Linked DNA regions of Homo sapiens: all the other regions are linked to region 6. The links are contacts of gene promoters, found by promoter capture Hi-C in blood cells and fetal thymus (Javierre and others, 2016). All regions are on one chromosome and are shown on one strand. Each heading gives the region's core, a stretch centred on a gene start or on the middle of the fragment in contact. The rest is flanking DNA. Distances are from core to core; before and after follow the strand shown.

The links. The method cuts DNA at HindIII sites, captures the fragments that hold promoters and counts their contacts. A CHiCAGO score of 5 or more calls a contact.
Region 1: a fragment that was not itself captured here is called in contact with the fragment with the promoter of PTPRJ in region 6 in 1 of 17 cell types (neutrophils); the score reaches 5.1 in neutrophils.
Region 2: a contact is called between a fragment that was not itself captured here and the fragment with the promoter of PTPRJ in region 6, in 2 of 17 cell types (activated CD4 T cells and total B cells). The highest score is 5.4, in activated CD4 T cells.
Region 3: a contact is called between a fragment that was not itself captured here and the fragment with the promoter of PTPRJ in region 6, in 4 of 17 cell types (total B cells, naive B cells, total CD8 T cells and 1 more). The highest score is 7.0, in total B cells.
Region 4: a contact is called between a fragment that was not itself captured here and the fragment with the promoter of PTPRJ in region 6, in 1 of 17 cell types (naive B cells). The highest score is 5.2, in naive B cells.
Region 5: a fragment that was not itself captured here is called in contact with the fragment with the promoter of PTPRJ in region 6 in 4 of 17 cell types (M1 macrophages, neutrophils, M2 macrophages and 1 more); the score reaches 12.2 in M1 macrophages.
Region 7: a fragment that was not itself captured here is called in contact with the fragment with the promoter of PTPRJ in region 6 in 12 of 17 cell types (M1 macrophages, M2 macrophages, megakaryocytes and 9 more); the score reaches 12.1 in M1 macrophages.

Annotation. Positions count from the first base shown.
Region 1 is chr11:48,173,753-48,177,764 of GRCh38, forward strand. No RefSeq gene overlaps it. Among named protein-coding and RNA genes, the nearest start is that of OR4B1, 41 kb to the right of the region's middle. RefSeq lists a silencer at 3,141-3,313. The HindIII fragment of the contact is 5,624 bases long and covers 1-4,012 here.
Region 2 is chr11:47,747,733-47,751,188 of GRCh38, forward strand. FNBP4 (formin binding protein 4) reads right to left here. Exons shown (of 17, transcript NM_015308.5): 5 at 3,411-3,456; 6 at 3,184-3,304. Among named protein-coding and RNA genes, the nearest start is that of FNBP4, 18 kb to the right of the region's middle. The HindIII fragment of the contact is 7,780 bases long and covers 1-3,456 here.
Region 3 is chr11:47,784,135-47,788,101 of GRCh38, forward strand. It overlaps NUP160 (nucleoporin 160), which reads right to left. Exons shown (of 36, transcript NM_015231.3): 32 at 2,319-2,420; 33 at 788-929. Among named protein-coding and RNA genes, the nearest start is that of FNBP4, 19 kb to the left of the region's middle. The HindIII fragment of the contact is 3,579 bases long and covers 505-3,967 here.
Region 4 is chr11:47,832,337-47,836,023 of GRCh38, forward strand. NUP160 (nucleoporin 160) reads right to left here. Exons shown (of 36, transcript NM_015231.3): 7 at 3,315-3,473. Among named protein-coding and RNA genes, the nearest start is that of NUP160, 14 kb to the right of the region's middle. The HindIII fragment of the contact is 1,062 bases long and covers 1,466-2,527 here.
Region 5 is chr11:48,148,986-48,152,959 of GRCh38, forward strand. PTPRJ (protein tyrosine phosphatase receptor type J) reads left to right here. Exons shown (of 25, transcript NM_002843.4): 16 at 462-503; 17 at 1,005-1,013; 18 at 1,111-1,198. Among named protein-coding and RNA genes, the nearest start is that of MIR3161, 54 kb to the left of the region's middle. The HindIII fragment of the contact is 4,023 bases long and covers 116-3,974 here.
Region 6 is chr11:47,978,237-47,982,168 of GRCh38, forward strand. It overlaps PTPRJ (protein tyrosine phosphatase receptor type J), which reads left to right and starts at 2,323. Exons shown (of 25, transcript NM_002843.4): 1 at 2,323-2,772. The coding sequence starts at 2,677. RefSeq lists silencers at 2,234-2,823, 2,924-3,353. The HindIII fragment of the contact is 2,862 bases long and covers 1,519-3,932 here.
Region 7 is chr11:48,128,985-48,132,581 of GRCh38, forward strand. It overlaps PTPRJ (protein tyrosine phosphatase receptor type J), which reads left to right. Exons shown (of 25, transcript NM_002843.4): 8 at 1,475-1,732. Among named protein-coding and RNA genes, the nearest start is that of MIR3161, 34 kb to the left of the region's middle. The HindIII fragment of the contact is 4,254 bases long and covers 1-3,597 here.

The DNA.
Region 1 (4,012 bases), core at 645-3,144, 200 kb after region 6:
TATGGGCTAATATATCCCACCACATAGGAAATACCACTGTTAACATTTTACTGTAAATAATTCTGTAACCTTTAGAATTCTCACAAACACCACACACACACACCCCCCATATGTGCACACATGCATACATCTTCATCTTCATGTATTTGCTTTCATCTTTTTGCAAAACTGGAATCAAACATGTTCATATTTCTTTTTAAGATTAACATATTTCTTTGAGTAATATTTCTACTGAAGCGTAATACAGACAGAAAAATGCACTAATCATAGGTTGGCTGTTTGAATAATTGTCCAAAAATGAACACACCCATATAACCAGCACCCAAATTAAAAAGTATATACGACCAGCATGCCATAAGCCACCTTGGTGCCCCCTTTCAGCCACACCCTGGCAAAGCTAACCACTATCCTGGCTGCTAACCTTTTAAGTTGGTTCTGTGCTCAATTTTTTGAAACTTGCTTCTTTTTTAAAATTAAAAATTTTTATTTTTAGAGACGAGGTCTCACTCTGTCATGCAGGCTGCAGTGCAGTGGCACTGTAATGGCTCACCGTAGCCTCAGACTCCTGGACTCAAGTGATCCTCTCACCTCAGCCTCCTGAGTAGCTGGGACTACAGGTGCGTGCCACCACACCTGGCTAATGAAACTTGCTTTTTTTTTTTTTGAGACAGAGTTTCGCTCTTGTCACCCAGGCTGGAGTGCGATGGTATGATCTTGGCTCACTGCAACCTCTGCCTTCCGGGTTCAAGCAATTCTTCTGTCTCAGCCTCCCAAGTACCTGGGACTATAGGCATGTGCCACCATGCCTGGCTAATTTTTTTGTATTTTTAGCAAAGACAGCGTTTCACTGTGTTGGCCATGCTGGTCTTGAACTCTTGACCTCAGGTGATCCGCCCACCTCAGCCTCCCAAAGTGTTGGGATTACAGGCCTGAGCCACCGTGCCTGGCTGAAACTTGCTTTTTATACTTGACATATTGTGAACTCTTTCTGTGTTATTAGGTATTCATCCTGTTCACCATTTTAAGAGCTGCATAATACTCCATAGTATGGACACATACCACTCTCGAGTTAACTACTCTTTTATTGATTGCCATTAGATTATTTCTGATTTTACTCTCCTGTGAATAAGGATGTGGCATCTATCACAGTAGCCAGATCTTTGCAGACATCACAATTAATTTCTTAGTAAACTTTTCTATAAAATTAATGAATCGAAATATATAAAAAGGTAGGGCTTTAGGCTGGTCGTGGTGGCTGATGCCTGTAATTCCAGCACTTTGGGAGGCCAAGGCAGGTGGATTGCCTGAGCTCAGGAGTTTGAGACCAGCCTGGGCAACAAGGCAAAACGTCATCTCTACCAAAAAATACAAAAAATTAGCCGAGTGTGGTGGCACATGCATGTTGTCCCAGTTGCTTGGGAGGCTGAAGTGGGGGGGATCACTTGAGCCTGGGAGGCAGGTTGTGCCAAGATTGTGTCACTGCACTCTAACTTGGGTGACAGAGTGAGATCCTATCTCAAAAAAGAAAAAAAGGTAACGCTTAGATGAAATTCTGCTAAATTTTTCTCTAGATAGCAATTTACACTCTCATTATAGTGTGTGAGAATGCCTGTTTCTTTACAGCTTCATCCACAATGAACATTATAATAATGAACACCCCGCCCCCCTCCTTTTGTAACTTGAATAGGCAAATGAAAAAGAAGCAAACTGTGCTAGGCCTTTCTTGGATTGCTGTAAAGAAACACCACCTGAGACTGTTTAATTGATAAAGAAAAGAGGTTTTAGTTTGGCTCATGGCTCTGCAGGCTATACAGGAAGTGTGGTGCTGGCATCTGCTTCTAGTGAGGGCCTCAGGAAGCTACAATCACGGAGGAGGGTGACCGGGAGCCAGCATGTCACATGGCAAGGGCAGGAGCAAGAAAGAGAGGGTGACAGATGGGGGGACGTGTCACATGCTATTAAACAACCAGATCTTGCGTGAACTCGGAGGGAAAACTCGCACTTCACCAAGGGGATGGCTGTGAGCCATTCACAAGGGATTCGTCCCTATGATTGGAGCACTTCCCACCAGGCCCCATCTCCAACACTGGGAATTATATTTCTTCCTTTTTTTTTTTCTTTGAGGCGGAGTCTCCCTCTTTTGCCCAGCCTGGAGTGCTGTGGCGCGATCTCGGCTCATCACAACCTCCGCCTCCTGGGTTCAAGTGATTCTCTTGCCTCAGCCTCCTGAGTAGCTGGGATTACAGGCTCCCACTACCATGCCCAGCTAATTTTTGTATTTTTAGTAGAGATGGGGTTTCACCGTGTTGGCCAGGCTGGCCTCAAACTCCCGACCTCAAGTCATCTGCCCATCTTGGCCTCTCAAAGTTTGTGATTACAGGTGTGAGCCACCATGCCCAGGAGGAATTACATTTCAACGTGAGGTTTGGAGGGGACAAACATCCAAACAATATCACAAACTCAAAACTTCTGGGAGCCTTTATATGGAGTTGGGAGCACCGGTTCGAGTCTCCCACTTAGTGAGGGCCACACATCCAGGATCTAAGGAATTCTGTCCTGTGTTTCCACAGCTGCAGTCTTGGGTGTGAGACCAGGTGTCATATCAGGAGACCAATTTTGTTATGTCAAAATTGCATGCTCAGGGGTCATGGTTGTGTCTTGGACAACCTGATCCAGACTCATAGGCCCTGATGCTGCAGCCTTGGCAGTGTGAGGGTCCTTCTGAGGCATTTCATGTTCCCTGACATGGGCCATAGACTCCCTAGATGGGAAGAATCCGTGAAGGCCCTTTCAACAAATCCACTGGTCCTATCCACTCCACCTAGCCTGGAGGCTTAATTACTTCCAGAACCTTTAGAGGGAGGGAGATGGCATGGCTCTTTCTTGGAAAGTCTGGAAGGACACCATGGGCTAGAGGGGACAGACACATGCCTCATGTGGCCTCACAGGTCAGCCTAGGACCTGTGACAGTGACAGGGAGACAGGTTTGGCTTAACACAAGGAAGGGCCTTTTGAGGAGCAAACTCCCCTGAGGGGTCAGCCCTCTCATGGGAGCAGCTCAGGGGAGAAGGCTCAGCCTTGGCTGCTGGGAAGGCCTCTTTCCTGGAGCGTGACTGATGACTTTGTGCCTCCCTCTGCTCTACCTCCTGGTGTAATGTTGTTGGTCCTGGGGGCAGTGAGATGGAAAGAAGGCATCAGGGAACAAGATGGATCTGCCCTTTGCATTTGCTTCTGATGGGGAGGGGGTCATCTCAGTCACTTCATGGTAACCAGCTGAAGCAGGAGGGTATCTGGGGTTGTGGATGGGACATGGCTGTGTCCCAACCACCAGCCTGCCTCCACTACATTCTGCTCAGAATCCACCCTCCAGCCATAATAAACCACTTACACATGATTTCTACACATGAGATTGTTGGATATAAAATGCTCCAGGAATAAATGCTCGGTGCAGCGAAGTAAAACCAGCACTCAGGCAAAAGTTTAATTCTCTCAGCAAGGCAATTTACTTCTGTAGAAGGGTGTCACTTGCATCAGTAAAAATCACAAGAGCACAGAGAACAAAGGAGACCAGGGAGTTTTTATCCTTAATGCAGTCCCTATCTCTGTGTCACTCCCCCATGGGCTGGGGTCAGACTGCAAAATCTGAGCTGACCCAGTTGGCTACTTGTACATATTTTCCTAAATATAGAAGGGGAGGGGGACGTGAGGTACAGAGGTGGAACGTGTGAGATGTGCAGTTTCGGGGGAACAATGGGTAGAGGTCACCAAGGGAACAGATTTATTGATTAGAGCTAACGGACATGGGGTAGGCTGTTTATGCTAACTAGGGGCAAGGAAGAACAAGAAAGTTGAGTTTGCGAACGAGGGATAAGGAAGTTAACAGGCTAAATCCTTTGAAGAGAAACTCAGAAAGATTTATTGTATCTTACAAGGTATCTTCTTTTTGCTCAAATTCTTGTATGCTTCCCCCTTTCCTTGGCCAAACTCAGCTTTAGTCATTCCTCACTCTAGA
Region 2 (3,456 bases), core at 957-3,456, 230 kb before region 6:
AGGTCAGGAGTTTGAGACCAGCCTGGCCAACATAGTGAAACCCCATCTCTGCTAAAAATACAGAAATTAGCCCGGCATGGCGGCGTGCGCCTGTAATCCCAGCTATTCGGGAGGCTGAGGCAGAAGAATCGCTTGAACCTGGGAGGCAGAGGTTGCAGTGAACTGAGATCATGCCACTGTACTCCAGCTCGGATGACAGTGTGAGAGACTGTCTCAAAAAAATAAAATAGCTGGGCGTGGTGGCTCATGCCCGTAATCCCAGCACTTTGGGAGGCCAAGGTGGGAGGATCACATGGTCAGGAGTTCGAGATCAGCCTGGCCAATATGGTGAAACCCCGTCTCTACTAAACTACAAAAATTAGCCGGGCGTGGGACAGGCGCCTGTACTCCCAGCTACTCGGGAGGCTGAGGCAGGAGAATCGCTTGAACCCGGGGGGTGGAGGTTGCAGTGAGCAGAGATCGCGCCACTGCACTCCAGCCTGGGTGACAGAGCTAGGCTAGGTCTCAAAGAAAAAAAAAATAATAAAAATAAAAAATAAAAATAAAATAAAATAAAATAAAATGAACTATTCCTGAAATGAAATTTGTGATTAAAGTATCTGCTTCTCCCATTGGGGTAACACTTGTCCTATCCTCCTTTCTGTAACTGTAAATTTAAGTTATTATTATTATTTCTGGATGGTCTCACTCTGTCCAGGCTGGAACACACTGGCACAATGATAATTTTGAACTCCTGGGCTCAAGCTATCCTCTTGCCTCTGCCTCCTGAGTAGCTGGGACTACAGGTGTGTGCTACCTTGCCTGGGTAATTTTTCTTTTGTAGAGATGGGGTTGATCTTGTTATGTTTTCCAGGCTGGTTTAGAACTCCTGCACTCAAGCCATCTTCCTGCCCTGATTAAATTATTATTTTATTATTATTATTAAATTTTTTTTTGAGATGGAGTCTCACTCTGTCACCCAGGCTGGAGTGCAGTGGTGCGGTCTCAGCTCATTGCAACCTCTGCCTCCCAGATTCAAGCGATTCTCCTGCCTCAGACCCCCAAGTAGCTGGGACTACAAGCATGTGCCACTACACCCAGTTATTTTAGTATTTTTAATAGACGGGGTTTTACCATGTTGGCCAGGCTGGTCTTGAACTCCTAACCTCAAGTGATCCGCCTGCCTTGACCTCTCGAAGTGCTGGGATTACAGGTGTGAGCCACTGCGCCAAGCTCAATTATATTATTTTAAAGTATTTTTTTTGGGCTACATGCAGTAGCTCACACCTATAATGTAAGCAATTTGGGAGGCCGAGGCAGAAGCATCACTTGAGCTCAGAGTTTGAGACCTGTCTGGCAAACATGGTGAGACCACGTCTCTCAAAAAACAAACAAACAAACAAACAAACAAACAAAACCTGGCATGGTGGTGCACACCTGTAGTCCCAGCTACTAAGCAGTCTGAGGCAGGACTGCTTGAGCTCAGGAGAGTAAATCTGCAGTGAGCCATGGTCGTGCCACTGTACTCTAGCCTGGGTGACAGAGTCAGATCCTGTCTCAAAAATAAGTAAATAAAAAGGAAAGGTGCGGTGGCTTGTGCCTGTAATCCCAGCGTCTGAGGCAGGTGGATCACTTGAGGTCAGGAGTTCAAGACCAGCTTGACCAACTGGTGAAACCTCGTCTCTACTAAAAAAAAATAGAAAAATTAGTCAGGCGTTGTGCCTGTAATCCAAGCTACTCGGGAAGTTGAGGCAGAATTGCTTGAAACTGGGAGGCGGAGGATGCAATGAGCTGAAATCGCGCCACTCCCTTCCAGCCTGGGTAACCAAGCAAGACTCTGTCTCAAAAAGAAAAAAATTAAAATTAAAATATATTTTGATGCAAAAAAGTCTTTAAAATTGAAGATAAATTGGAATTCAATATACACTCCCTAAGGAATACAACTTACTTTTCTTACTAATTAGGCTATAGAAATGCTCAGGTTTCACTAACATAGTATCCGTTATTGAAAAATCCAAAATCTGAAACCGTTTGAGCACTGACATGATGATCAAAGGAAATGCTCACTGGAGCATCTCAGATTTCACATTTTCAGATTAAGAATACTCAACTGCTAAGTATAACGCAAATATTTCAGAATTCAAAAAAATTCAAAATCTAAATTATCTCCGATCCCAGGCATTTCAATTAAGAAATACTCAACCTGCAGTAGTTTTTAAAGTAGTTACCTTTATATTTTTAAAATGTCTTATATATGGAATCCGAAAAATAATAGAATGATTCTATGTGAAGTGGAGCCCTGTCTGGACTGCTGCTCCCACGTCCTTTGCAATGATCCAAGAGGCCTCTGTGATACCCTAAAGCTCTCAAAGAAAAAGTGAAGTGGGCCAGCTGCAGTGGCTCATGCCTGTAATCTCAGCACGTTGGGAGGCTGAGGCAGGTAGATCACCTGAGGTCAGGAGTTTGAGACCAGCCTGACCAACATGGTGAAACCCTGCCTCTAATAAAAATACAAAAATTAGCCAGGCATGGTGGCAGGTGCCTGTAATGCCAGCTACTCAGAAGGCTGAGGCAGGAGAATCACTTCTTGAGCCTGGGAGGCAGAGGTTGCAGTGAGCTGAGACAGCACCACTGCGCTCCAGCCTGGGCAACAGAGCGAGACTCCATATCAAAAAAAAAAAAAAAAAAAAAAAAAAGGCCAGATGTGGTGGCTCACGCTTGTAATCCCAGCACTCTGGGAGGCCAAGGCAGGCGGATCATGAGGTCAGGAGATCGAGACCATCCTGGCTAACACAGTGAAACACCGTCTCCACTAAAAATACAAAAAATAAGCCAGGTGTGGTAGCGGGTGCTTGTAATCCCAGCGACTCAGGAGGCTGAGGCAGGAGAATGGTGTGAACCCGGGAGGTGGAGCTTGCAGTCAGCTGAGATCGCACCACTGTACTCCAGCCTGGGTGACGGGGCGAGACTCTGTCTCAAAAAAAAAAAAAAAAAAAAAAAAAAAAAGAAAAAAGAAAAAAGAAAAAGTCAAGTGAGTAACCGCTATAAAGGCTACATAATACACAGAAACAAAGTGAAAGTTATGAAACTTATCCTATTTCACATGTATGACATAAAATATTAAGAGAAGGCTTCCACTCCTGTGCTCAGAGTAACGCTTATTAGATCTGAAAATAAACAAATGAGGTAAGTTTCGACACTGACCTTTTTAACTTCTCGCTTGGCTATGACTGGTCCACTTTTACTACTGGAAACAGAAATCGTTTTCTCCTTAGAATATATGTCTGTATTTACCACAAAACTAGTTTCAGCACCTGGCACAGAACTAAAAAAATATATACTTAGCAAGAGAAATATAAGACAAATACTATCAGCAAAAGATAAGGCTTCAATTTCCTTCTAGGCAATTTCACTTTTAAATTTATTCTTACCTGGGCTGGTAATGCTGTAATCCCTGTACCTGTGTGGCAAGATATT
Region 3 (3,967 bases), core at 1,044-3,543, 190 kb before region 6:
GAAGTTCTCAAACTTTAGCATGCATCAAAATCAAATTAGGAGCTTCTTAAAATGTAGATTTCTGGCTCCTAGCCTGAGATAATCTGATTCTGTAAGTCTAGGATGAGGAATCTGTATTTTGAAGAAGACTGCCATCTGAATAATTCTGATGCAGACAGTCTAAGAACCCGTTTTTGATTTTTAATAGGTGAAACAGTGGGAGTGGAGAAGGAACCAATCGGAAACTGGTTGTGCTCAATTAGTTGTAAACAACACGGCACTCAGACCAGCCATAGTGTTATATTATTTGAAAAGTACTCCACCGACTCCTGTGACTTTTTTGAGGTATGAAGAGTAAATCCTGTGTCATGCATATGCTCATTGTTCTAAATATAAACTCATTGTTCAGTGAATATAATAGGAGTCATTAACCTAATTACTAACCTATGAAACTTCAAATCTAAATACACAGTAGTACTGTGGAAATGAATTTGAATTGTTCTTATGGTTTTAGCTATGATGAAAAGCTTCCCAAAGTACGTAAGTCAATATGTTCCCATAAGTTATCACCCCATCTTTTTCTTTTTCTTTATATATTTTTAAATTTAAATAGAGATGGGGTCTCCCTGTGTTGCCCAAGCTGGTCTCAAACTCCTGGGCTCAAGCCATCCTCCCCTGTTGGCCTACCAATGTGCGGGCATGACAGGTATGAGCCACTGCAATCAGTCCATATTTTTAATCATCTCATGAAGTTATCCAGAATGATAAAGAGTGGGTTCTTACTCTGTACAAGTTATAATCCGTTTACCTTGTAACTGTTTATAAGCCAATTAGGCAGAGGCACTCCATGAGACAAGAGCTTGTTGATTACACAGTGGTGATACAAGTTATTCTGGACTTTGTACCTCTCCAGGTAAGTGGATAATAGTCGCCATGCTTCATCTGTAGCACTTGAAAAAAACAAAAATGACTAATGAGTTTCAGATTCTTAATAGCTATTTAGAGTACCATTCAAAGCATGTATTTACAAGGAAAACTTTTTTTTCAGACAGGGTCTTGCTCTGTCACCCAGGCTAGAGTGGAGTGGTGTGATCTCAGCTCACTGCAGCCTCAGCCCCAGATTCTCCCATTTCAGCTTCCTAAATAGCTGGGAATACAGGCATGCACCACTATGCCCAGCTAATTTTGTTTATGTTTTGTAGAGACAAGGACTTGCTATGTTGTCCACGCTGGTATTAAACTCCAGAGCTAAAGTGATCCTCTGACCTTGTCCTCCCTAAGTGTTGGGATTACAGGCAGGAGTCACCATGCCCAGCCTTACAAGGAAAACTTTAGAAATTAACAACTGAATCAATAATATAGCTAAATGGGAACAAATATTATTTGGGCTAATGTGACTTATGGGGATAGCACTAGAAACTAGATGTCTTGGGTTCGTATATTCCTCTCCCACTAACGTATTTAGTATTTAGTAAACAAACATATTTAGTAAATGAACGTTATTTGTTTGGCTATTAATGCATAATTCATTTAACTCCTTTGTTTCTGCATTTCTAAAACAAGAAACTGGTTCAGAACACTGGTTCTCAAACCTGATCAAGCATTAGAATCATGCAGAAGTTCTAACTTAGAAGACTAGGGTGATTTCTCATAATCTGTATTTTAATAAGTTATTCTGATGTGCTAATTTAGGGGTTGAAAACTAATGTCAGAGAACTTCCAAATTCTAAAGTGCTATCACTCTAAAGTGCTAAGCTGTATAATACCAAGTGCAAATGCAGTTCAGAAAGGGAAGTTTACTGAGGGTTAGGAATGTTAGAGAAGGTTTCTGAAGAAGCTGAAGTATATTTACGTGGACACAAAGTGGGTGCACTGGGGAAGTATACGAACCAGAGGAGATCTGAAGAAGGTATAGTGGATGATGGGGGCTGATGGGTGACAGACTGCTGAACAGCAGCTGGAGACAAGATATAAGAGGACACTGTGATGAAACCATGCAGTGACTGCTCAGTGGAAGAAATGGGGGAAAAAAGGAGGATAACACTCCGAAACAAGTAAATACAGATTTTTGCCTGTAAGAGTACCCTTTCCTGATATGAAACAGTAAGTCTTTGAGGAGGGGGATATGGAGAAGGAGACATTTCATAGGCAAAGACATCCTAGTTTGGACAATAAATGACATGATGTCACCTTAATTATAAACTTTCCAGCCCCTATAAAAACTTAGCCAAAAAGAAAGAAAAAAGTGAAATGATCTATGTAGGACAATTTAGTCAGAGAAAGACAGTTACAGCTTTTAGAAAGGCAAAACTACCCAGGGTTGAACACCAGGGTTGTACCTAGACTCCTTAGTAGTGATGACAGATGAGAGCTGATTGGCTGCTAGCCAGGCCCAGGCTTCTGCTTGTGCTGCCTCTCCTCCAAATTGCAATTTGATGCATCTGGAATGAAAATGGTTCCACACTTGAAAACTGAACGCTGAAACGTACCACTTTAATTTGATACTAAAACTAGAGAGATAGATGACAACTTCATCTCTAGTCTTTTGCTGAATTCACTACTGGAATATTGGCTCATCTCTTCCTCAAGTTACACAACTGGATACCTACAAGAACATGAGTAAGCATTAAGAGACAATTTACTTCCAAGATAAAATTAATGATGAAAAATTCTTTTTTCTTTTCTTTTTTTTTGAGATGGAGTCTTGCTCTGTCACCCAGGCTGCAGTGCAGTGGTGCAATCTCAGCTCACTGCAACCTCTGCCTCCCAGGTTCAAGTGATTCTCCTGTCTCAGCCTCCTGAGTAGCTGGGACTACAGGCCCATGCCACCATGCCTGGCTAATTTTTTGTATATTTAGTAGAGACGGGGTTTCACTGTGTTAGCCAGGATGGTCTTGATCTCCTGACCTCATGATCCGCCCGCCTAGGTCTCCCAAAGTCCTGGGATAACAGGTATGAGCCACCGCACCTGGCCTCTTTTTTTTTTTAAATTAAGATGGAGTCTCGCTCTGTTGCCCAGGCTGGAGTGCAGTGGCGCAATCTCAACTCATTGTAACCTCCGTCTCCCAGGCTCAAGCGATTCTCCTGCCTTAGCCACCCAAGTAGCTGGGATTACAGGCACACGCCACCTCTCCTGGCTAACTTTTGTATTTTTAGTAGAGATGGGGTTTCGTCATGTTGGCCGGGCAGGTCTTGAACTCCTGACCTCAAGTGATCTGCCCACCTTGGCCTCCCAACGTGATGGCATTACAGGCGTAAGCCACTGCACCTGGCTGAAAAATTCTGAAAGTTCAAAATTATTTCTAATTCACAAACTTTTTTTTTTTTTTTTTTTGAAACAGAGTCTTGCTTTGTTGCCCAGGCTCGAGTGCAGAGGCGCGATCTCAGCTCACTGCAACCTCTGCCTCCCAAGTTCAAGAGATTCTTGTGCCTAAGCCTCCTGAGAGGCTGAAATTACTGTTGTGTGCCACACCCTCATTTTTGTATTTTTAGTAGAGACAGGGTTTCACCATGTTGGCCAGGCTGGTCCCAAGCGATCCACCCGCCACAGCCTCCCAAAGTATTAGTAGGATTACAGATGTGAGCCACTGTGCCTGGCCAAGAAATTCTTCTTCTTTTTTTTGAGACAGAGTCTCGCTCTGTCGCCCAGGCTGGAGTGCAGTGGCGCGATCTCGGCTCATTGCAAGCTCTGCCTCCCAGGTTCACGCCATTCTCCTGCCTCAGCCTCCCGAGTAGCTGGGACTACAGGCGCCCGCCACCACGCCCGACTAATTTTTTTTGTATTATTTTTAGTAGAGACGGGGTTTCACCTTGTTAGCCAGGATGGTCTTGATCTCCTGGCCTCGTGATCCGCCCGCCTCGGCCTCCCAAAGTGCTGGGATTACAGGCGTGAGCCACTGCGCTCAGCCTGAAATTCTTTTTAAGAATGCTTGGATGGATTAAACAAAACACTTCTTCAAATCATAAATGATATATGGGCTACTTGGCT
Region 4 (3,687 bases), core at 747-3,246, 150 kb before region 6:
CTAATGAAAGGCCACCAGGTTAGGAAGATGAGAGGGGCCCGAATTCATAGTTAAATGATTACCAGTCATTATTCCGGAGGTCATAAGATTTGCAACTTCCCCAATTACTTCTGTAAATAACATCACCATTGTAGCACCTTACACTGGCCTTTTAAAATGTGTTTTCAGTTTTTTACATTTCTGGCCCCAGCCAGATGAGCAACTCTTCTGTGGCCCCGACCCAGAAGCAGACTCAGCGCATAGGATGGTTTTCCACACTCCTACAATTGCATCTCCAACCAGTCAGCAGCACTCATAGCCTCGCCCTGCCTGGCAAACTATCTTTGAAAAACCCTAGCCTCTAAATTTTCAGGGGGGCTGATCTGATTTGAGTTAACAGTAAAACTCCGGTCTCCTGTTTAGCTGGCTCTATGTGTATTAAACTCTCTCTATTCCAATTCCTGTCTTGATAAATCAGCTGTATGTATTGGGCACTTACAGAATGAAGTGCTGACAACACATGCTACATGGATGAACCTTGAAAATATTAAGCTAAGTGAAAGAAGCCAGTCACAGAAAACCACTTATATGATTCCACTGACATAATATGACCAGAATAAGTAACTTTATAGAGACAGAAAATAGATTAGCAGTTGTGTAGAGCTGGGAAGAAATGGGGGAAGGGAAGAATGATAGCTAAAAGGTATGGGGTTTCTTTTTGAGGTGATGGAAATGTTCTAAAGTTGACTATGGTAATGGTTGCTCGTATCTGTGGATATACTAAAACTCATTGAATGGTATACTTTAAATGGGTGAGTGAATTACATCTCAAGAAAGCTGTTTAAATAAATGAATAGGCTGGGCGTGGTGGCTCACACCTGTAATCCCAGCACTTTGGGAGGCTGAGGCGGGTGGATCACCTGAGGTCAGGAGTTCGAGACCAGACTGGCCCACATGGTGAAACCCCATCTCTATTAAAAATACAAAAAATTAGCCGGGTATGGTGGCAGGTACCTGTAATCCCAGCCACTGTGGAGGCTGATGAAGGAGAATTGCTTGAACCCAGGAGGCAGAGGTTGCAGTCAGTTGAGGTCACGCTACTGCACTCCAGCCTGGGTGACAAGAGTGCCAAACTCCATCACAAAAGAAAAAAAAAAAAGAATAAAGTGAACCTGTCATTTCAGGGAAAACAAATGACAGTATTTGTTGCCAATGATACATTTCAAGTTTTAAAGTGAAAACTATGATTTCAGAAAACTTCGTATCCACTAACATGAACTCCAGAGCTTCTCAAGGCTCTTCTGAGTGATCACCAATGATAATATCATCAATGATAATAGTTGTGCAGAAAGGGTTAACATAGCAGGCCTGAGGCTGCTCTCCTTAGAAAGTCTTGCTTGTACTCTGGGAGGCCGAAGTGGGCAGATCACAAGGTCAGGAGTTCGAGACCAGCCTGGCCAATATGGTGGGCACTGTGCCTCTAGCAAGCTTTCCTGGGAAACAACATTTTACACACATCATCACAATTCAGTGCTGGAAGAATTAAGCATGTCCTGTGAGACTCTACTGGGAGGGGACTCTTAGACGATTGTGTCTGGCTTCAGACTTCACTCCATGTGCCTTTTCCCTTTTTTCACTTTGCTTTGTATCTTTTCACTGTAATACATTTTAGCTGTCAGCACAACTACATACTGAGCCCTATGAGTCCTTTCAGAGTATTACTGGACATGGAGGTGAGGTGGTCTTGGGGATTACCCCCCAAAACAGTAATTTAGATACTGCATAATATAAAATGTGTCAATCCACATCCAGCCAGTTTTAATTTCTAATAAATTATAGGTATAACCCATATAAACAAAAGCTCTTTGCAGTTCTCGGTAAGAGTATAATAGGGTCCCGAGACCAAAAGTTTGAGAACCACTATTTTAGTGTGACAAACTAATTGTAACATGTCGAGGAGACTGATCAACAGGATGTTACATGAATAACAATGGAAGGAACTAAGGAAGTTAGAGCAGGGTCAATTCTCCTACCACCCACAACCTACATGCAGAGAAGAGTATACTTAGAGGAGATGGATAGGTATGTTCAAATAGTTCAAGGGTTGTCCTCCAGAAGAGAGAATAGAACAATTATGTGCAATCAAGATAAATGTCTTGATAGCATGATACTTTTGGGCCATATTAGGAAAAAACTGCAAGAATGAGCTCTTCCTCTTCCCTTCCATTCTGTTCCTGAGCAATCCAATCTAAAAACCTAGAGCAAGGTAGATATCCTTGCTGGCCAGAAGGTAAGGGTCGGGGACCTGGGGGGTTGGGGTTCGGCATAAGGAGTCAGTCTGAACAGGTTGAAGAGAACATCGGTGCAGGCATGTCCCAGCACAGGAGTGAGAACACTAGTGAGTGAGAAGGGCGTGCATGCAGGGGTGATATGGCCAGGTGTGATGAGGCAAGAGCCTAGGGACATAAGAAGACTGTCCACATTTGGGACTGCCTGACTTCGGGGGGAGGAGCACGAACAGTTTGAGATGGCTTCCACATGGACAGAAAGCTTGGTGCAGGATGGAAACTCAGGTTGGGTGAGGAGGAGGTCCATTGCATGGGGGCAGTCTGGTGGTCTCAGGGCCCAAACAGGGTAAGGAGGGCACCCACATTGGAGGAGCAATGTGGAGTGGGCTATGAGATCCCAACAGAAGTGAGAAGGGCATCCAGGAAGGGCAGTGGCCTAGCGTGGGGACTCAGTGGGGGAATCAGAGCTCCTGCATAGTAAGGGAGACAGACCCTACCTCACTGGGCTGTTATTAGGATTAAATGGATAAAACGCATATAGCATATGAGCCCAGAGTAAGCACAATCCCAGTGTCTGCTATTATTAATGTGCATAAAGGGACTGGCACAGCACCAAACACACAATGCTCAACAAATGGCTGTTTATTAAATGATTACACTATTACATCACATCCTACGTATCTCATCTACAGACAGCAGCTACTGTCTGGATGCTAAGCAAATTTATTTAGAAAAATTAACTTAACACCACATAACACCTACATCCCTTTCAGGAATTCTGTTTTTTCACCTAGAACTCCTAATTTGCTCTTCTTGTTTAGTTTCTGTTAACTTTTCCTTTCATGTTACTTTAAACTCTCTACTTCCTTTCATACTGACCCCTCCTTCAAGATCTTCTAATTCACATAGTAGCACGAAACCCAACCATCACCTCAGAAACACATCTAGGTCGGTGAAAAGAGCTTGAACAGACTCACTGAGTCTACAGCCATTTCTCCACATCAGTACACACAGAATAACTTGGTATGTGTCTTATTTGTTTCATACCTGTCCTCGTTTTGGTGCATGCATGTATATCCCCAGGTAGAGTCCCATGGTGGGGGAATAAGCAAGCCGTAATTTGTGTCCAGTTCCAGCAGTAAGCCGAAGGTCTTTCTTCACAGGGACATACTCCAGCATGTCAGCTACCATTAGGCACATTTGCTCCTGTCCAAGAAAATAGTTAATAGGTGATATTCAAGGGATATTCAGGCTAGAAGAACATACCTTTTGAAAGGATGGACCTTTCATTGTATCTACTGCTCTATCTAGTTTATCTGCTAAAAGACCTTACAGGTTTTTGTTTCAAAAGGGCTAACACAGGCCGGGCGCAGTGGCTCACGTCTGTAATCCCAGCACTCTGGGAGGCCGAGGTGGGTGG
Region 5 (3,974 bases), core at 877-3,376, 170 kb after region 6:
TCTTAAATACCAATGCAGAGTTGAGTCAACAGTGCAGGAGTGTGCAGATGCCTCACCAACTTGCCAGTTCCGGATCTGATATGTTTTTTGGTTTATTGCATTCATTTATCAGAAAAGCTTTCTCAAAAACAAAGTATGAAATAACAAGTCTTGCTTTACATTAAAGTAATGCCACTGCTATATATTTGCAAGGAAGTTCTTAAAAGTGACTTGGATATGATTTTTTTCATTCTTTTAGATAGTACAAAAGAAAATAACTTCACAAATTTGTAATTAGCATTTGCAGCTTGGGTCATTAAGTTTAGTATTAGGGGGCAGGATTTGGTGTCAGCTGTGAACTAATGCCTGAGGAAAAGGTGTAACACCTTTATTTCATAGATGACATCAACTCCAGATACACAAGGGAAAAGCACAGGAAGGAATCCTTTTTTGTCTAATGGGTCTCTTTTCTCTTAAAACAGGAAAGATGCAAAGAATAATGAAGTGTCCTTTTCTCAAATTAAGTAAGTCTCTCAAATTATGAGCTTTATTTTAAATCCTCCAATCTGTTCGGTGACTATCTATAAATAATTTTTGATGGAACTTGCTGTCATTTTTCCTGATTGGCACATTTTGACCATGACCATCTGGAAGTTTTTGCTAGCTCTGTTTTCTGCAAGGAATCTATGTTTTATTAGTCTCCTGAAGCTGGCTTCCTTGTCATGTTCTACTCTTCTACCAATAAATACGGATTTCTTGATTAAAAAAACGTCAAATAGGTTATCAAGATCCAGGGGAGAGAAGAACTTACTTAAAGTCACAAAACCAATTAGTTACAAAGTAGGGTCTAGAAATCAGATTTCCTGAATCATATTTTAGTGTTTTGTGAATAATAGTACTCTGACCCCCTCTTGCCAAATTATACCCTGGGTTTTGTTGTTTTGGGAAGATTGTTTACTGTCATTTCTAGAGTATGAATGAGTCTTTCTAATTGCATATTTTTTCTTTCCCTTTCTATCATGAAGACCTAAAAAGTGAGTAATCTCTTTATTTTTTTTAATAACTTGTACTTTTCTATTGAATATGGACTTCACTGAATGTAAAAAATCCTGATAAGTTTTGTTTTCTTAGATCTAAGTTAATCAGAGTGGAGAATTTTGAGGCCTACTTCAAGAAGCAGCAAGCTGACTCCAACTGTGGGTTCGCAGAGGAATACGAAGTATGTTGCTGTAAATACTGTTTTTAATTGTGTCAGGTTCCAACCCAAGCTGGGATCTGAGGGGAGTTGGTGGATGGGTGGCAGGTAGCTGAAAGAACACTCGAGGGACTGTAGGCAGTTGGGACATGGCTTTATTCTCTCTCCTACAGAGTCAGCAGTGCAGTTATATTACTCACAGACAATAGTGGCTCAAAGCCAGGTATGAACTCACACAAACAGGTTACATTAAATGGCTATATAACGCAAGGGGTTGTTGCGCTCCAAACCCTTTGCGTCATACTGTCCTGGATGTCTACCTTGGACTACTCCTGACTGAAGCACAGCCACTTTCCTTAGAAATTGGCTTGTTTTTCCTGAAAGTTAGAAAACTGTTAACAGAAACTAGGAATTCAAGTCAGGGAACTGTTAGCCACAATACTTAGGAAGCTATATGAGCTGGAAAGAAACCAAATGGGCATGTAGAGGTCTGGGGCTTGATGGCAGTGTGGCCTAGGATGGCTTGTGAGGCTCACTTCTGAAGCCCTGCACAAGGAATTTCTTGGCCAGTGTCTGCCTTTCAGTTCCCCATGCTGTGCTCCAACCAGCCCAGGAACCAGCCCTGCTCAGAGTGACCATGCACACTCGTCCTCCTGTGCTGCCCTGTCCAGCATCTCTGCCTTTGCTCTCTTGAAATCCTGCTCAGCACTCAGCACAGTGCACATGCTGCTTCCTCCATGGGCATTCTGGGATCCCATTAGGAGGACTTGAGTTCTGTGTGCTCAGACTGCCTTGTTTCCCCTGTTGCTTGTTACCAATATTCAGCATTTCTTTAATTCTGCCTTTTTGTAATGTTAGTTTTTTCTGTGTACAGTACACCTCTCCTCCAGGTTGCAACTGCTTGAAGGCAAGGGTTATCCTTTTTCCTATATTCTAACCTTTGTATTAGTTCTCTAGGCTGCCATAAAAAAGCACCACAAACTGGGAGGCTGAAAACAACAGAAATTTACTGTCTAGAGGCCACAAGTCCCAAATTAAGGTGTGGGCAGGGTCACACTCCCTTCTAAACCTCTGGGCAGCGCCCTTCCTTGCCTCCGCAGCTTCTGGGAGCCCCAGGCGTCCCTTGGTTTTGTGGCAGCAACACTCTGATGTCTGCCTCTGTGTTCACATGGCCATCTCCCCTCATGTGTCTATGTCTCTTTGTCTCTTTTCCTCCTATAAGGACACTAGTCATATGGGATTCAGGGCCCACTCTAATCTAGTATGATCTCATTTTAATTTGTTTACATTTGTAAAGAGCCTTTTTTTTTTATACTTTAAGTTCTAGGATACATGAGCACAACATGCAGGTTTGTTACATATGTGTACATGTGCCATGTTGGTGTGCTGCACCCATTAACTCATCATTTACATTAGGTATATCTCCTAATGCTATCCCTCCCCCCACCCCATGACAGGCCCCGGTGTGTGATGTTCCCCTCCCTGTGTCCAAGTGTTCTCATTGTTCAATTCCCACCTATGAGTAAGAACATGCGGTGTTTGGTTTTCTGTCCTTGCGATCGTTTGCTGAGAATGATGGTTTCCAGCTTCATCCATGTCCCTACAAAGGACCTGAACTCATCCTTTTATGGCTGCATAGTATTCCATGGTGAATGTGTGCCACATTTTTCTTAGTCCAGTCTATCATTGATGGGCATTTCGGTTGGTTCCAAGTCTTTGCTATTGTGAATAGTGCTGCAATAAACATACATGTGCATGTGTCTTTATAGCAGCATGATTTATAATCCTTTGGGTATATACCCAGTAATGGGATGGCTGGGTCAAATGGTATTTCTAGTTTCATATCCTTGAGGAATCACCACATTGTCTTCCACAATGGTTGAACTAGTTTACAGTCCCAACAACAGTGTAAAAGTGTTGCTATTTCTCCACATCCTCTCCAGCACCTGTTGTTTCCTGACTTTTTAATGATTGCCATTCTAACTGGTGTGAGATGCTATCTCATTGTGGTTTTGATTTGCATTTCTCTGATGGCCAGCGATGATGAGCATTTTTTCATGTGTCTTTTGGCTGCATAAATGTCTTCTTTTGAGAAGTGTCTGTTCATATCCTTCGCCCACTTTTTGATGGGGTTGTTTGATTTTTTCTTGTAAATTTGTTTAAGTTCTTTGTAGTTTCTGGATATTAGCCCTTTGTCAGATGGGTAGATTGCAAAAATTTTCTCCCATTCTGTAGGTTGCCTGTTCACTCTGATGGTAGTTTCTTTTGCTGTGCAGAAGCTCTTTAGTTTAATTAGATCCAATTTGTCAATTTTGTCTTTTGTTGCCATTGCTTTTGGTGTTTTAGACGTAAAGTCCTTGCCCATGCCTATGTCCTGAATAGTATTGCCTAGGTTTTCTTCTAGGGTTTTTATGGTTTTAGGTCTGACATTTAAGTCTTTAATCCATCTTGAATTAATTTTTGTCAGTTTCAGCTTTCTACATATGGCTAGCCAGTTTTCCCAGCACCATTTATTAAATTGGGAATCCTTTCCCCATTGCTTGTTTTTGTCAGGTTTGTCAAAGATCAGATGGTTGTAGATGTGTGGTATTATTTCTGAGGGCTCTGTTCTGTTCCATTGGTCTATATCTCTGTTTTGGTACCAGTGCCATGCTCTTTTGGTTACTGTAGCCTTGTAGTATAGTTTGACGTCAGCTAGCATGATGCTTCCAGCTTTGTTCTTTTGGCTTAGGATTGTCTTGGCAGTGCAGGCTTGTAAAGAGCCTATTTCTAAATAAGATCCCACTCATAGGTATTGGGG
Region 6 (3,932 bases), core at 1,073-3,572:
GAGTAGCTGGGATTACAGGCATGCGCCACTACACCCAGCTCATTTTGTATTTTTAGTAGAGACAGGGTTTTTCCATGTTGGTCAGGTGGTCTTGAACTCCCGACCTCAGGTGATCCGCCCACCTTAGCCTCCCAAAGTGCTGGGATTATAGGCGTGAGCCACTGTGCCCAGCCCCCTGGTAGCATCTTAAATCAAGCTTTCCTTCCCTCTGGGTATCATGGACATGAACACCTTTTATGTCTCTGCCTCAAGAGGGGAGGAGGCACAGAGGAACAAAAATCCTTGTGAATTATGATAATTACATAGTGTTTAAATGAAGGGTGGCAAGGTGTGTAAGTCCATAGGTAAGGTTTCTTTTTTCTTTTTCTTTTCTTTTTTTTGAGATGGAGTCTCACTCTGTCACCCAGGCTGGAGTGCAGTGGTGCAATCTTGGCTCACTGCAACCTCCGTCTCCCGGGTTCAAGCGATTCTCCTGCCCTCAGCCTCTGGAGTAGCTGAGATTACAGGCACGCCATCACGCCCAGCTAACTTTTGTATTTTTAGTAGAGATGGGTTTTCACCATGTTGGCCAAGCTGGTCTCGCACTCCTGACCTCAAGTGATCTGCCTGCCCCGGCCTCCTGAAGTGCTGGGGTTACAGGTGTGGTGTGAGCCACCACGCCCAGCCTCTTCTTTTTTTTTTTTTTTTTTTTGAGACAGGTTTTCACGTTATTCCCCAGGTTGGAGTGCAGTGTTGCCATCTTGGTTTACTGCAGCCTAGGTTCAAGCCATCCTTGTATCGGCCTCCCAGGTAGCTTAGTCTACAGCTGTGTGCCACCACACCCGGCTAATTTTTGTAGAAACTGGGTTTCACCCCGTTGCCCAGGCTGGTTTCGAACTCTTGAGCTTAAGTGATCTAGTCACCTTGGCCTCCGGAAGTGCTGGGATTACAGGCGTGAGCCATCGTGCGGCCTGGCAAAGTTTCTTTATCCTCAGTGCTTGTCTGGGTGTGTTGTCTGGTGGGAACCACTTAGACCCTGTAAGTGAATGTGTATTCCCATCTTGTAGATGGTAACCTGAGGCCCAACGGGTGTCTGGAGGTAGTGTTGGACACCTCGTGGTCTGCATCTTGCTGCACACAGAATCCAGCCTAGACTCATTATCCTGGCCTTTGAAGTCTCCCCCAGTATGAATCCCCCAGCCTCCCATTCCTGTTTCTCCGAAGGCCAAGCTCGAAGCATCTGCTGCCTCGTTTCTGCCAAGTTGGCCCCACCTCCTGAGACACTTCTCCCCTCTACTGGCCTGGTGAAACTCAACACATCCTTCAAAGCCCAGCTCAGGTGTCACCTCTCTCCTGGTTGGAATTAACCTCTTCCTCCTTAGCACTCTCTGGTTTGGCCCTTTCTCTTGCGGCTTCTCCTGGGCAAGTGGCATAGCCTCCCTGATCCTAGTGTCTTCCTCTGTGCATGGGCACAGGAGTAATATCTGCTGTGATCTTTAACTCCTGTCAGTTCATTGACCTCTTTAACAACGTGATGAAAGCTTCCAGAAGAGCTAATGTATGTGGAGTCCCACGATGTGTCAGGCTAGGTGTTTAGGACTTTACTAACTACTGTCTCGTTTAATCGCGAATGCAGTGGACCTCTCTCTCCACACGTCCTAGTACGATCTTTATTTCACACGGGAGGAGAGGAGGGTGGGTGGGGTCGGCCAGAGAGGAGAAATGCGTCTCCAGAGTTCACAGGGCTGGTACTACCAGCAGAGCCCCGTCCACCATATGCCACAGCTGGGGTTCTAATCCCTGGACTGGCTTGTACTGGGCTCTCTGCCTCCCTGGCCGGCGCTCGGGGGCTGGGGGACAGAACACAATGTACAGCGTGCCTTCTACAATTTCGGGGTTCACGCACCCCCAAGCCCACCCAGGGCCAGGTCAAACGCGCCTTCGCCGGGTTGCTGTCTACAATCAGGCTTGGCTGCGCTCTCAGTAGGGGTCTCGGTCAACCTCTGCCCACCCGAACCCGGCGCCGTGGACCTGGTGTGAGGCTGGGGAGCCCGTCCTGAGGGGTGCCGGCTCGAGGCGCTAGAGCCACGGAGCCTGGTCCCGGGCTCCAAGTCCCAGGAATGTGGGAGGGCTGGGCGGAGGGGCGGGCGAGGCGGGAGCGCTTCCTCTGCCCGCGGGAGGGGATCCGCGGCCGGCTCGGAGGGGGCGGGGGCAGCGGCGGGCGGCGGCGAGGGGCTGCGGAGCTCCGCAGCCGCCGGGCCGGCCGGGGCGGGAGGAAGCGATGAATATTCAGAGGGGGAGGGGAAGGGAGGGGGCCGAGCGCTCGCCGCGGCTCCCTGCAGCAGCCCCAGCCGCATGACGCGCGGAGGAGGCAGCGGGAGCAGCCGCGGGAGCCGGGACCGGGTAGCCGCGCGCTGGGGGTGGGCGCCGCTCGCTCCGCCCCGCGAAGCCCCTGCGCGCTCAGGGACGCGGCCCCCCCGCGGCAGCCGCGCTAGGCTCCGGCGTGTGGCCGCGGCCGCCGCCGCCGCTGCCATGTCTCCGGGGAAGCCCGGGGCGGGCGGAGCGGGGACGAGGCGGACCGGCTGGCGGAGGAGGAGGCGAAGGAGACGGCAGGAGGCGGCGACGACGGTGCCCGGGCTCGGGCGCACGGCGGGGCCCGATTCGCGCGTCCGGGGCACGTTCCAGGGCGCGCGGGGCATGAAGCCGGCGGCGCGGGAGGCGCGGCTGCCTCCGCGCTCGCCCGGGCTGCGCTGGGCGCTGCCGCTGCTGCTGCTGCTGCTGCGCCTGGGCCAGGTAAGCGCCGGGTGGGCTCGGGCGGGGGGCAGGAGGCTGGGGCGGGACTGGCATTGACTGCACCTGCCCGAGCGTACCCCCCCGGGGGGTTCCGGGGAAGGGGGCGGGGGTCCGGATCCCCGGATCCCCGGAAGGCGACTTGCGGGGACCCCGGCCGGCCTCGCACGCCGGCGATCGATCCCTTTTCCGGCTGCCCAGGATCGGGGGAGAGAGGCGGGATCCGGGTGCCGCGGTGCCCGAGCCTCCCGGGGAAAGCCTCCGCGCGGGCTCCAGGCCGTCCCTGGCCCGGCTCTTCCCGGCGCTGGGCACATCTGGCGGGCACGGGCCCGGCTTCCTAGCCGGAGGCGGCCGGAGGGGGCGTGTTTGCGGAGGTCTGGGGACGCAGAGCCGGGCGGCCTGGCTGAGCCTTTGCCGACAGACCTCCGACCCGGCCTGCAGGGGCCCGAGGGGCGGCGGGGGCGACAGGGCAGGGCCAGGCGCTGGGCAGTGGGGCCCTGGGCGAGGCGCGGGACTCCGGGCCGAGGGCCCTGTTCCTGGGGAAAGTTCCCAGGCCGGGGAAAAGGTGGCCGCACGCTGGCTTTTCTCAAGGCAGCCGGCCCTCTTGGCGTCGTGCTTGATTTCATGGGTGTTTAATTCGTGCTTTGTGGGCGCTGGCTCCCCCTCCCCACCCCACCCTCACCCTCTTTTCTGGCTTCACTTTTCAGATAATGCTGTCCCTGGCGTTTTGGTGACCGACCTTTCCCCTTCCTGGCATTTCCATAGGGGCTGAGGCAGAGCAGCTGAAGGGGCATTCCCATTTCACAGATGGGGAACTGAGGGAGAGAAGTGAAATAGCGGAGCACCCAGCCCGTGCCATGGGAGCTGAGCCAGCGGGCACGTCCTCTTAGCCTCTGGAGCCTGTTGGGGTTTGAACCCGCAGGGGAAGCGGTCTAGGGCTGCCTTGCTGTGCGTTTCTGCAAATGACCATCTTGCTTGTTTTATACAGACACCATCTCTGAGGAAATGAGTTATTGGCTGGGGATGGAACCTGGTTTCAGGGAAAACTTCTCCAGCGCGAATACAGGAGAGAGCAGAAGCATCACCCTGGGGCAGCAATGCCGCCTAGCAGGCTGTAGGAGAAGGGGGCTGGGGCCTGGGGGCTGCGTGACCCTCGGCACCCA
Region 7 (3,597 bases), core at 421-2,920, 150 kb after region 6:
AACACCACCAAAAACAACAACAACAAAACCCAAGTATCCGTGGCTTAAACAAGACAGGGGTTTATTTCTCTCTCCTGTAACAGAAGCCCAGTGCTAGGCAGGATGGGGATGATAGAGGTTATCCAAGGCTCAGTTGTATGAAACAGAAACTGTGAGCTATTTTAACCAAAAGGGATTTATCCTGGGAATTGAGGTTTTGCAGAATCATTGGAAGAGCTGGTGTATTAGTTTGCTAGGGCTACCAGAACAAGTACCAAAGGCTGTGTGGCTTGAACAGAAATAGACTTTCTCATAGTTCTGGAGGCTGAAGGTCAAAGATTAAGGCAACGGCAGGTGTGGTTTCTTCTGAGGCCTCCCTCTTGGCTTATAGATGACTGTCTTCTCCCTCACATGGTTGTCCTTAGTCTGCGTGTGCCTATGCCCTCATCTCCCTTTATAAGGACACCAGTCTTGCTGGATTAGGGCCTACCTTCATGACCTCACATTAACTTAATTACCTCTTTGAAGACCCTGTCTCCAAAGACAGCCACATTCTGAGGTCTTGGGGGTTAGGACATAAACATACACATTTGGGGGTGAGGGAGCACAAGTCAGCTCATAACAGTTGAGGAGCAGGCTTTAGGCCTCGCCCCAAGAAATGACTCCTGGACTAAGTCTGCAGAACTGACCCCCTGGAGAGTCACCACCTTGGTCACAGACAGCAGAGGGAGGAATCAGGAAGTCTCTGCTGTAGTTGCGGGATCCAGGGGTCTATGTTCTGAGCTGTGATCCTGGGATCAGGAAGCTGCAGCCACCGCTGAGGTTTTGGTTCTAGAGCCAGGCAGCGTGAGCTCCAGTCATTGCATCCACACTACAGGTATAAGAAGGAGGAAGGGCAGAAGGTTGTGCCCCACCCTTAAAGGACACTTCCTAGAAGTCACCCAGTACCTCTGCTCATGCTTCGTTGAGCAAAACTTAGTCACATTGCAACATCTAGCTCCATGGGAGCTGGGAAATGTGGTCTTTGTTTCCAACAGGTATGCACACACAGGGCTAAAAATCTGGGTGGGTATGATGAAGGGAAAATGGGGGAATGGATTTTGGGGGTCAAGACTGGTCTCTCTCTGCTGTCCCTCCCTGAACAGAGGCTCTGGGAGGCTAGTAATGCATTCGAGATAAAGCAGCCAGTGTGGCCAAGGTTCTCCTCCAGAGCCTGAGCCCTTGACCACAGGAGCTCACGCCTCCTCTCATTTCCTGTGAATGATTGTGTGCAATGTAAGCACAGAGCTTCTGCACTCTCATGATCAAGTGCTCTCTCCATGGCCAGAAACAGCAGTTTCTGAGGGGCTCATGTTGTAGGTGATGATACAAAGAAGACAGAGAGAGGGATCAGGTGTCCTAAGTGTACATTTCATCTCAGTATTTTCTGAGGTGGGGCATCCCTGTCTCCTGGAGAAGTATATTTTTAATCTAGTTGTTTACTTTCTTTGCATAGCCCCTGTTCCAGTTTCTGACTTCCGAGTGACAGTGGTCAGCACGACGGAGATCGGCTTAGCATGGAGCAGCCATGATGCAGAATCATTTCAGATGCATATCACACAGGAGGGAGCTGGCAATTCTCGGGTAGAAATAACCACCAACCAAAGTATTATCATTGGTGGCTTGTTCCCTGGAACCAAGTATTGCTTTGAAATAGTTCCAAAAGGACCAAATGGGACTGAAGGGGCATCTCGGACAGTTTGCAATAGAACTGGTAAGCAAATAGGCTTTTCTGTTAAACCATCATGTTTCTTAAAGGAAATCAGTATAATTAATAAACATAATGTTTCCAAATATTGTTTTTCTTTTAATTATCTAAGAAAAAACTTTAAAAATTTTCATAACACTAATGCTTATTTATTATATGAAATACAGACAAGTAAGTAGAAAAAACTTACATGGAAACCATCAAGCAGAGATAATCACTTTTGATGTATGACATTTTACAATTTTTAAACATATACATATAGATACACAAATATATGTGTGAGTATACATATATTTAATACATATATATTTAATATTTAATACACACACACACACACACACATATATATATATATATATATTTTTTTTTTTTTTTTTTTTTTTTTTTGAGACAGTCTTACCCTGTCACCCAGGCTGGAGTGCAGTGGCATGATCTTGGCTCACTGCAACCTCCATCTCCTGGGTTCAAGTGAAGCGATTCTTGTGCCTCAGCCTCCTGAGTAATTGGAATTACAGGTGTGCACCACCATGCCTGGCTAATTTTTATAGTTTTAGTAGAGACAGGGTTTCGCCATATTGGCCAGGCTGGTCTTGATCTCCTGATCTCAAATGATCTGCCCACCTCAGCCTCCCAAAGTGCTTGGATTACAGGTGTGCGCCACTGCACCCAGCCCACAAATATATATTTATTTCTTTCACAAACATTGAGGCCATCTGTACATGTGGTTTTGTAATCTGCCTTTTCCCCAACTTGCCAATTAATTATGAATATTCTTTCCTCTTAATAAAATATTTCTACAGGATGATTTGAACACCTGCCTGGAATTCCATCATCTGAAACAGAGTTGGCAGATAAGAATGGCCCCTATGCCAAATTTGGCTCATTGTCTGTTTTTGTAAATAAAGTTTTATTGGATCACAGCCATGTTCATTTGCTTATGTACTGTCTATGGCTACTTTGGTGCTAGAATTGAGTAGTGGCAGCAGAGAACGTGTGGCTTGTGAAGCCTGAGATATTTATTTTCTGGCCATTACAGAGAATGTTTGCTGACCTCTGGGCTAGATCAGTGGTTTTCAAATTGTGGTCCAGGGCTCTCTAGGGATCCCTAGGTTCTTTCAAGGGGTCTCCAAGGTAGTATTATCATAACAATACTAAAATGTTATTTGGCTTTTTCATTCTCATTCTCTTTTGGAGTTTTCCAACTTTGATCCGATATGGGATGACATTGTCTCTCAGGTCTAATGGAATATATGCTGTGGATTCTTACATTTTAAAAATTTCTTCATTTTAAATCCCTGATATAGTAAATATTAATAAATATAACCTATGTAAATACAAATTCTCTGAGAGCCTTAATAACTTTTAAGATGGTAAAGAAGTCCTGAGAGCAAAAAGTTTAAGAACCTCTGGTCAAGATGTGTTAGAAATTAACTACTGTGCTGTGTTGGGCAGGTGGACTGTTCACAGTCTTTCCTAAACAACACTGTGATGAGATACTTTGTTAGTTCTAGAAGGCTAATTGAAATTGATAAAATCATTTTATAGTCAGCTACGGTGGCCTGCACCCATCGTCCCAGCTACTTGAGAGGCTGCGGCAGGAGGATTGCTTGGCCCAACAGTTGCAGACTAGCACCAGCCTGGGAGACCCTGTCTCAAAAAAAAATTTTTTTTTATAGAAACAGTTTAAATTATTAAATTATTTCTAGGCCTACAGGAGAAACTTCTGGGAAATCCTAGAGAGTAATGTTCATTATTGTTGTTTTAAAATTTTGAAATAATTGTTTTTTGGAAAGGTTGAAAAACATACAGTCTTCCTTGATCTAAGATTCAAGATAGTTGAAATCTTTTATACAGAGGGTAGAATAAAGATA